2 separate regions of the Homo sapiens genome follow, and region 2 is linked to region 1. The links are contacts of gene promoters, found by promoter capture Hi-C in blood cells and fetal thymus (Javierre and others, 2016). All regions are on one chromosome and are shown on one strand. The core of a region is centred on a gene start or on the middle of the fragment in contact, and the rest is flanking DNA. Distances in the headings are between cores, read along the strand shown. Region 1 holds the start of HPSE (heparanase). Region 2 overlaps LIN54 (lin-54 DREAM MuvB core complex component).

The links. The method cuts DNA at HindIII sites, captures the fragments that hold promoters and counts their contacts. A CHiCAGO score of 5 or more calls a contact.
Region 2: a fragment that was not itself captured here is called in contact with the fragment with the promoter of HPSE in region 1 in 1 of 17 cell types (total CD8 T cells); the score reaches 6.2 in total CD8 T cells.

Annotation. Positions count from the first base shown.
Region 1 is chr4:83,331,646-83,337,076 of GRCh38, forward strand. It overlaps HPSE (heparanase), which reads right to left and starts at 3,203. Exons shown (of 12, transcript NM_001098540.3): 1 at 2,911-3,203. The coding sequence starts at 3,137. The HindIII fragment of the contact is 2,644 bases long and covers 1,640-4,283 here.
Region 2 is chr4:82,966,749-82,972,179 of GRCh38, forward strand. It overlaps LIN54 (lin-54 DREAM MuvB core complex component), which reads right to left. Exons shown (of 13, transcript NM_194282.4): 4 at 3,579-3,721. Among named protein-coding and RNA genes, the nearest start is that of LIN54, 41 kb to the right of the region's middle. RefSeq lists a silencer at 1-39. The HindIII fragment of the contact is 300 bases long and covers 3,111-3,410 here.

The DNA.
Region 1 (5,431 bases), core at 1,953-4,452:
TGTGTGGAGTTGGGCTGTACACAATGTATTTGCCATCATGGAGACTAGAACCACGCCAGTGACTAAGTTTGCTTAGGCCTCTTTGAAGTACCTTAGATGAAGGTTTGGGCCCTGATACTGTTACTCTCATGTGAATGCTTCTTTTCATTATATCAATCTCTCAATTCCTTTCCAAACAATCTTTTTCTACCATATCCTACTCTCTTTCCTTTAAAAAATATAATCTGCTTTCCCTTTTTATGGGCACTATTATCTCATGTGATCAGAGTCTAGTTTCAAACTGTGGCCAAGTTACTTAACCTCCCTGAGCCTCACTTTCTTCATTTTTAAAATGGGGGTGACAAAACTAGTCACTCACAGTGTTGTAGCCAAGACTAAATGGATTAATACCTAGAAGGTGCTTAGAACAGGGCCAGGCAAATGACAAGAACTGAGGAAGTGTCAGCTGTTTGTGTCCTCCTCTCTTTCCTTATTCCTTCAGCTTTCGTCTGCTCAGCTCTTGCCATCCCGCCCACACATCTTCACTTTTGAGGAACTGTAATAAATTAAACAACAGGCGTCTTACTCTCCTCTACTGTGGACCCCTACAAAGCTTAGTGTTGTCTTCTGAGATGGCTGGGCTGTTTGGGCCCTGTGCCCCTCCTGGGGAGATGGACCCTCACACTCTAATTTAGAAGCTAGGTCTTAGATGAGGAGAGGGGGTTCCTCCCTCTTTTAGGTCTTAGCAGATAACACTCTGGGTGTGCTTGTCGATGCGTCTGGGGAGCAGGTATGGCAGATGGCCTCTCCAAGCGAAGCGGGCTGGAACAGACAGCAGCCAGCCTTGGAGAGAAGCACGTATGGACAAGAATGAACTGTTTTGTAAACCAGAAAAAAAGTTTTATGTATCACATGTTATGCTCTCTTGGTATTTCATTATACTCCAGTCTTTAACAAAAAGGTGCAGAGGAGGGGAAAAAAGGGTGCTCTGGGAAATGAAGAGATGTATTTAAGAAGAATAAAGGTATCATCCTCACTAAATTGCAGATTGGAATTTCTACGTGTTAGGGGGGTGTTAGTCAATTGCGGGGAGCTTGACTGCTGGGTGATCAGGCCCAGATCCTGGAAGTCCCACTGTATGTTTTTTCTTTTGGACCTGTTACTCCAGGGGGGAACCCCCATCTGTCCTTTCTTGGGGAGAGGTTGGGGAATATGCTGGCTACAGCAATAGAAGAGGCCTCAGGTCCTCACATTTCAGTAAATGGACATCTACTTCATACCCATGTTCAGTAACCGCCCCCCCCCACCCCACACCCCAGCAAGCTAAGACTGGGGTCCTGTGATCTGGAGCCCTATGGTTCAGCATTTCTCTGGAACAATCTTCCTATCCCCCAACTAGTTGCTGCCTAGTATCAGCTTCCTATCCTTAAGGGGAAGGGCAGAAAGTAAGGATTCTTCCCCACCAGAAAATTGTAGTGCCAGAAGGAAAAGGAGAGGTTAACTATGATCCAAAGAAACAGAAAACCGGTGAATGGCTACCAAATGCTCACCATGTCCTAGAAAGAAACAATTCGTTTGAAACGTCAAACACTTACTATGGGTCAAACACTGAGAAGCTCTTACCATATCATCAAATCCTCGGGCAATAATCCTTGAGGCAAGCTTGAGAAATTCCATTCTACAGCTGAAGAAATCAAGGTTGGTGTGGCCAAGAGATATGGAAAAACCAAGTCACTCATCTTTGCCAGAGCTGAGAGTCAAGCCAGGATGGTCTGTCCATCTCTTAACCAGTACACTACCCATTAAATTAGCGCTGGCAACTATAGTGTGGGCTCAGGGAGGACAGCATCTAGGTATTTGACACAGAGGTGAGATAATGGTGATCTTTCCCTCTATCTGGGCTGGTCAAGATGTGGCCATCTCTGGAGGCTCCCAGGGCCTAAATAAGAGGCCTAGAAGACCTGGGATTGTCCCTGTAGCTCCCCATCTTGGAGTCAGCCTGCATTCATGGGGCAGGAGCCCTGAACCTGCATCAGGTTCCTTCTTTCTCAGGTAAGGAAAAAACTTAGAGCTGATAAGGCAGCACCACATTTTGCAGCCCCATTTTGGAGAGACATCTTTTTATTAGGACTTTGTAAGTCACTGCAGTAGTCTCCTAGGTCTCATTTATTGAATATTTAGATTTTTATTCCTGTTCTGTGACGCCCTTTTCATCTGCCTAAAAAAAAAAAAAGAAAAGAAAAAAGAAAAAGAAAAGAAAAGAAAGAGAAATCTTCCTAACACAGTCTTAAATACAGAAGGCTATGCACAATCTTACTTGTCCTACACTGCACAGCAAATCAAGCACTCACAGGCCTTCAGGTGCACCTGCCTGGTTTCCCTCCTCTTGGCTAGGGAAGTACTGGGGCAAGTGGGCAGTTTCTTTTTCAAATTTCCACTTATACCTGACCTTAGGTGGTGCCTATTCAACACTTACAGAATGAATGAAACAAAAAGGCTCATTTAGAGTGGGCGCTAAACAATGTGTACACATGGACTTAGTGGAATAGTAGACACTGGAGACTCCAAAAGGTGGGAGGGTGGGAGAGGGATGAGGGATGAGAAATTACCTATTAGATACAATGTACAACATTCGGGTGACAGTTACACTAAGAGCCCAGATGCCACCACAATGCAATATACCCATGGAACAGAACTGCACTTGTAACCCCTAAATCTATTTTTTAAATGATACCCCCCAAAAAGCAGTTTGGGGTCTGAGAGTAAGGGAGGGAGAGGGAGAATGAGAGGCGGGAAGTGGGGTGGGGAGAGACAGGCGGGGAGGTTCCGGTGTGAAGTTGTTTCCGCGCAAAAGAAGGAGAGCGGCTGGCGGGGCAGACATAGGTGTCAGGAGGACAGGAAAGGGGACAGGACCAGGAGGCTGGCGCTTACCCCAGGAGGATGAGGAACCGCGGGTCCGTGGCCAGGTTGGCGTCAATGGTGACGGACAGGAACGAGGGGCTCACCAGGTGCAGCGGCTCCTGGGTGAAGAAGTCCAGGTCCACGACGTCCTGTGCTTGCGCAGGTCGGGGCAGGGCGCCAGGGGAGAGGGGACCCAGCGGCCCCAGGAGCAGCAGCATCAGCGGCGGCGGCAGCGCAGGCTTCGAGCGCAGCAGCATCTTGGGCTCACCTGGCTGCTCCCCCCGCCAGCTGCCGCGCAGCGGAGAGTCGAGAGCTCTAGCACTTCCTCCCGCCGAGCCCCAGCGCCCTTTTCTCCTTTCCTCCGCCCCGTTACGCCTCCTCACCCCTCCCACTGCGCCCTCCATCCCTCCCACTCCTCTTCTGCATCCCTCCCACTGCTCCCAATCCAACCCCGCCCCGCCTGCCCGGCTCTCTCCTACTTCCTTGCTCGCTTTCCCCTCGGTGGCGGTCACGTTCACTTACGAAATCACCCACACCCACTTGAAGGGTGCGGAGATGGCCGGGATCCAAGCGCCCGGGAGGCCTGGGGAGGAGCGCCCGGGGAGGAGCGCCCGGGGAGCAGCGCTGGGCATCCCGGACCAGGCTTCCTGACGCACGTGTTCTGCGCGCTCTCGTGGGAACCCAGCGTTTCCGACTCCCAGATCCCATTCTGATGGCGCCGGGTATCCCTCTGACCCTCGAGTAAAACCTCCAATGGAGTATTCATCCCTTCCTCTCCCATCTAGCTTATAAACACTTGCTTGTCACTTGAGCCAGCCAAAATCTGATTGTCCTCTGGCCAGGCAGTTTCTCAGGTATTTTACTTTTGCTTGAAAAAATCTGGCCTCAGCATACGCTAAACTGCAGCTGGAAAGAGATCAACCACCCAAAATTCTTTATCAACTTCTCATTAAGACAATATTTAGCAATCTTAAAGGGTTAGTTGCTCCAATGTCTGGAACTCAGGACCTGAAGCCCCCATACAAAGTGTAGAGTACGGACTGCCCCTGAATTTGGAGCCTTTGCCAAATTTCTCCTCTGCGCATTTATCTTTCGCTGTTGGTCAGACTTTTCTTCAGCTTTTCCTTGATGCTTACACTGATGTATAATCATAGCAAGCATCGCACGCTTAGTGCCTACTGTATGCCTGATACAGGTGCTTTACTTGTGTTCTCTTCCCTTCTCACAACCCTGCCAAGTGCATACTGTCCTTGTTTTACACATGCGGACCCAAGCTCTGAGACAGTAACTGGGTGAAGTGTCAGAATCGGGATGTGAAGTGTCAGAATCGGGATGTGAATGCAGTTACAAAACCTCGAGCAGATGGCAGTGTGTTTCAGCTGAAATGTAACTTCCCTCAAGGAAGCTTTCTCTCAATCTCCAGGCAGCTCTCCATGACACACTCTCATAGCATCCTCAATTTGTTAGACACTCTCGTAGCATCCTCAATTTGTTAGACACTCTCGTAGCATCCTCAATTTGTTAGTATTGTGATGTTGCTCAACATTGGCTTCATCTACTAGATTATATGCTCCACCAAAACAGAGATTAAGTTTGTCTCACACGCTATGCTAGCCATAGCTCAGGCATGTGATCATGTTGGTGCTTAGTAAGAGTCTAATAAATATTGGTTGAGTAAGCAAATAACACCAAAACCCTTAGATTTTTCCACTTGAGATTGTACCACCAATAAGGCAACAAATAAAAATAGATTATTTTGAAATGCATATCTAATTTGCATAAATCAGGCCAGGCATGGTATGTGATGCCAGTGATGCCATCATGCCTGTGATGCCAGCATTTTGGGAGGCCAAGGTGGGAGGATTGCTTGAGCCGAGGAATTCAAGAACAGCCTGGGCAACATGATGAAACCCCATCTCTACAAAAAATACAAAAAATTAGCCAGGCGTGGTGGCCCGTGCCTGTGGTTCCAGCTACTGGGGAGGCTGAGGTGGGAGGTTTATTTGAGCCTGGGAGGTGGAGGTTGCAGTGACCCTTAATCACACCACTGCACTCCAGCCTGGGTGACAAAGTGAGACCCTCTCTTAAAATAATAATAATAATTATCATTATTTGCATAGATCTACCTATTCTTAAGCAACTTAAAAGCTAAGCTCATAGTGAGTTTTGCAACTAGAATCAGGTTCATATCCTACAATTACTGTATACATATGAAAAAAAATTCACACATAAACACCACACTACCAGAAGAGTGTAATAATATGGTAGCAGACGTGGAGTTGGAAAAACAGAAGTTTCTTTTCCACATTTGTCATGACATTAATCTTACACCCCACCCCATGCCCCTGACTCCTGTTGTGAGTCAACAGTCATACCAATTTCTTTCTTTTTTTTTTTTTTTGAGACGGAGTCTCGCTCTGTCGCCCAGGCTGGAGTGCAGTGGCACCATCTCGGCTCACTGCAAGCTCTGCCTCCTGGATTCACGCCATTCTCCTGCCTCAGCCTCCCGAGTAGCTGGGACTACAGGGGCCTGCCATCACCCCCGGCTAAT
Region 2 (5,431 bases), core at 2,011-4,510, 360 kb before region 1:
GCTAGGATGTGCCACCATGCCCAGCTAGTTTTTGTATTTTTAGTAGAGACAGGGTTTCACCATGTTAGCCAGGCTGGTCTCGAACTCCTGTCTCAGGTGATCTGCCCACCTCAACCTACCAAAGTGCTGGGATTACAGGCATGAGCCACCACACCCAGCCCCGACATCTGAATCTTTTTTGGCTATCAACTTATTAAGATAAATAAGCTTAGCCGTTACGTCTGTAATCCCAGCACTTTGGGAGGCCGAGGCAGGCAGATCATGAGGTCAGGAGATCGAGACCCTCCTGGACGACATGGTGAAAACCCATCTCTACTAAAAATAGAAAAATTAGCTGGGTGGTGGCACATGCCTGTAATCCCAGCTACTCGGGACGCTGAGGCAGGAGAATTGTTTGAACCCAGGAGGTGGAGGTTGCAGTGAGCCGAGATGGCGCCACTGCACTCCAGCCTGGTGACAGAGCAAGACTCCATCTCAAAAAAAAAAAAGAAAAAAGAAAAAAAAGGAAAAAAGAAACTTAGCTGTATCTTGGTTTAACCACCAGAACTAAATGCAGCGAGAGTTCCTGGGATAACCTGACAGATATCCTCAAGAGTTTATTCAGAGAATATGTGAACACAGAAACTGGTCCCAGCCTGGAAAATTCTGCAAGAAAGAAGATGGCTGCAGCTGTCACAATGGTAGGGCAAAGATTTAGAGGACAGCAGTTAGGCAAGCTGCACTTTTACCACTGGGTTCTAGAAGTTTCCCACTGGCCATGTAGATGCTGCAGAAGGGCTAAGACATCTTGATGGGACCCTGCCAAAGCCATGTACCTTCTGGAGTAAAGGTACTCAGGAGTGCCAGACGTAGACTACAGGAATGAAGAGCTAAAGGGAGGCTGCAAAAGGCAGCTGGAGAGTACACCATATCCCTGACAGGGAACTTGGCAATGTGGCAATAACCCACAGGAAGGGCTCCAAAAAAACCATCCTGAGTGAATATCTCCATTAAGTCCACATTTGGACACCTGTCACACAGAGGGCACCAGAAGCTGGATTACAATAGTCTCAGTCAAACAAAACCTTGTCCTTTCTCCTTTAATCTTCCTTCTGATCAGAAGACAAAATCAGAAAGGGAGAGGAGGTTGAAGAGTGACGAAACAGATCATGCTCCTCTTCTCCACCGCGAATCCCTGAGCCATGGTTAGATCTCACCTGAACGATAGATAAGCTTTCAACCGGATGTAAGCTTTTGACTGTACATTTCACACCTGTGAATTTTAATAACCAAAACAAGCTTGTTTTTGTTTTTTGTTTTTTTTTTTTCTGGAGACAAGAGTTTCGCTTTTGTTGCCCAGGCTGGAATGCAATGGCAGGATCTCAGCTCACCGCGACCTCTACCTCCTGGGTTCAAGCAATTCTCCTGCCTCAGCCTCCCGAGTAGCTGGGATTACAGGCATGTGCCACCAAGCCCAGCTAATTTTGTATTTTTTTTGTAGAGACAGGGTTTCTCCATGTTGGTCAGGCTGGTCTCAGACTAAAACAAGCTTGTTCTTATAGTTAAGTGTAAAATCTTGCCAAGAGTCAAGAAAGGAAGATCCAATATGGCAGGGCTAAAGTCAAGGATGGGAAAAAAATAAAGCCAGTTCCTATTCGTATGTCATCAGGTATAAACCATATACCAGTCAAATTAGTCCATAGGGCTACCATCTACCCCGTTATCTAAGTCAGAAATACAGGAGTCATCCTAGATTCTCCCCCTAAGATACTGAACCTCTTTCAACACATCTCTCTTCCTCTTTAGCCCCTGAGCTACTAGTGTAGTTCAAACATGAAGTACTGCAATAATCTCTTAGTGATTCTCTACCCTGGCCTACACTTTTAAAAGATTAAATTTAACACACAGGCCGCAGCCTAGAGATTCTGATTTAAATGGGGTCAGGTAGGGGCCTGCCATTAGTTTTCTCAAGAGGTCCCCAGTACTAACTGCAGCCAAGGTTGAGAATCACTAACCTAACTGGTCTCTCCCACAATACAGGCTCACCTTCCCCCAAACTATCTCTCATAATGCCACAAGATTCGTATTTTTAAAAATGCAAATTTCATATTATTTATAGCAGTGGTTCCCAATCTAGGCTACCCACTAGAATCACTTAAAGAGCTTTGTAAAATCCTGATACCAGGTCAAGTCTGGAGAGATGAAAACAGAATCTCTGGGGATGAGAACTAGGCGTCGGTATTTATTAAAACTCTCCAGGTGATCCCAATAAGCAGATAAGGGCGAGAATCACTGTCCTAGAAGCAATGAGAAGCCACAGAAGTCCAAACTCCCCTGAAGATAAAGAAACCGTCCATCTAACCTTAGCACCCTCGGCTCTCACACTGCAAAAATCAGTGAGGCTTCCTGAAAGACCACACTTTTACACCTTTATGTAAAGTATCACCTCAATCCAGAAATCCCCTTCTGCTCATCTGGAGCTAAGTCCAACCCACGTTTAAGGTTAAGACCTTTCAAGAATAAGCTCCTTTGTATAAACCTTCCCTGCCAAACACACAGCAGTCATTAATCCATCTATGACCATTGTAATTCTGTAGGACAATTTTTAATGTTTCAGTCTAACTACCTTATTGAATTCCTTGAAATGAAATACCTTATCTTATTCATGTTTTATCCTCAGTGCCTATCACTATGCATGGCACAGTTACCCTCAAATTTCTGCCAAATTCATTCAATTTAGGGAAAAAGTTATGCAGGTAGAATTTGACCTTAATAAACTGTATGAGATAACATATTTGTACATTATAGTCAAGGCTCATTAAAGAAACCAACACCTGGACTTTAAAAAATGTAAGGCAAATGTTTAACGTTTGTTCTATTTATGAACAGTAACAAATCAAAGAAAGCAGGTGCAAAGGGCAGTATTGTTTCCAGAGTCACAAGCGTGAAACCTAACAAAATAATAATGCTTGGCTTTCTATCTGAATAATATGTCCTTTAAAACATATCTTTTTCAAAATGTTATGCTGGTATAATAACAACTGTATGTTTTAGGAAAGTGAGTTAGATGACTTACTTTGCCTCACAATAAAATAAGAAAGCATTTGAATGCTTCCAATAAAATGTATTCAAGCTTAAACAACACTGATAATATGGCTACCAGCATCTGATGGCAATTTCTACTACTCTGGGTCCTGTTACCAAGCAAAAGTTCAGATCTCCATTTTTTAAAGTTACATTTAATATTTTATATCATAAGTCTATATGTACCTTCCACAAATACAATAATTTTGCTAAAATATTAACTAAAGAAGAACTAAACACCTACATTATTGAATTTATTCAAGATTTTGTTGTACCCACATTCATATGGGCTATGGAAATCATATTCACATGCAAAATGATTACTATGTTACTATGTGTTTAAAGTAAGCTTTTTAATCTGTCAGACATCCTTGATTACTAAATTAATCCAGTATTCATTGAATGTCTATTACTTGCTTGGGAATGTACTAAAATTGAAGTATCTGAAGTGACTAGTAAGAAAATAAAGGCATCAACCACAATATTTGGTATTTGTGGCTAATTTATTTTTTTACCTTATTTGGCGATTTCAAAGGTGAGATGGCTATTTTATTTGGTGTCTGTGTTGTAGAATTTAAAGTTGATCCAATAACACCACTTTCAGATATTGTTATGGTCTTTGATGGAGTTCCGGGAGTAGACTGTGAAAGAACCCTACCTGCAAATGAGAGGCAGCACATCAGTTTGACTTTTTTCAATAATAGTATAAAAATTTATGTGATGATGCTCTACACTCACAAGGACTGCAGAATGTATGTTTGTTATTTCATGTCAACACTTAATGAGGCACTAATGAACTATGGTAAACCTAGGCAGAACTAAACAAAACACTACTTCTTAGTAATACTTAATATCAGCTTACATTAAACTCTACAAAAACAGTTTAGTTCATGTGTTCATCAATACTGTTGTTATATCCATCAGAGAGAAAGCTCAGGGCAACTAAGTAATGTGCCCTGTGTAACACAGCTCCTGAAAGTCAGAACATGAACCCAAGTCTTAAAACTTCAATCTCTGTATTCTACTATCTATAGCTGTCTTCCCATATGAACTTAAACCATGAAGGTACAATTGAAATCCACACTTATAAAACAGATAGTTATTGGACTAACTTAAACACTGAAAGGTTTAATACTACCTGATTTTAGACTGCCAAAGGGGATAAAAAAATGTTTTTTCTACCCACCCCGGCCAGATTCCATATTGTGTTCCCTTCTGGACAAGACCCTTCAGGAACAACCATGAAAAACTCTAGTGTCTGGATGCTTGGGGAACTGAAAACCATATTACATTGAGTTGAAATATCAGGAATTTTTATCCTAGGTAAGAAAAGACTACAAAGACATAACAGATCTTCAAATTCTTGAAGACTGTGTGATAGCCATTATTCCCATTCACCAAGTATTCTAGCTTTCTTCCATTCTGGACACATGGTAGAACTACACTTGCACTTCCTACCACTCCCACCCCATCTTGTAGTTAAGTTAGAGTCATGTCACTACTCCTGGCAGACGAGTTATGAGTAGAAGTGACGTGTGTCATTCTTGGGCCACAGCATTTATTACTGCCTATGCAAGACCTTCCAAAGTTTATTTTCCTCTGCCATCTGAGATGGCGGCTCCTTGGTTAGCCTGTGTCCCTGAGTTGCTATGAAGAGAAGATACCTTTTTGAACCCACAATGGTCATATAGATAATCAATTTTTAAATTTTTTTTAAATTGAATTTAAAAAAAAAAAACAGGTTTTTTACCCTTCTGAGGTTTGGAGATTATTTTGGCAGAAAAACCAAGATTATCCTAACTGATCCAGGCTGTCAGGTTAAAGGATTAGAACCAATCTGTATCACATCAAATGCAGAGAAACAGAAAATATTTCAGCTCAGCACTAAGAAAGAACTTCTAACAAAAATTTCCAACTGAAATGACTATTTCAACACAAGTGAGTTTCTAGTCACTAAAGGTGTCCCAGGCAGATGCTGGATAATCAAATATACCGGCTAAAGAGGAAAGTCAAGCATCTAAGAAGTAGAGAAGATTGATAACTAAATTATCTCTAGAATCTGCTCTAACCTTTAGATACTATGATTAAACTCATAGATCCAGCTAGAGATGAAGGAGAGAGCATGACAGTGAGGAGAAAGGGAAAGAGAGAAAGAAGGGACTTTCACTTTAGACAAAAATAAAGAACTAATGCTTAGCAGCTTCTGGGCCATTTTTCCTGACAACAATGCCAAAGTATGCCTTTTGTTTTGTTTTGTTTTGAGACAGGGGTCTCCCTCAGTCACCCAGGCTAGAATGCAGTGGCGTGATCATAGCTCACTGCAGCCTTGAACTTCTGGGCTCAAATGATCCTCCCATCTCAGCCTCCT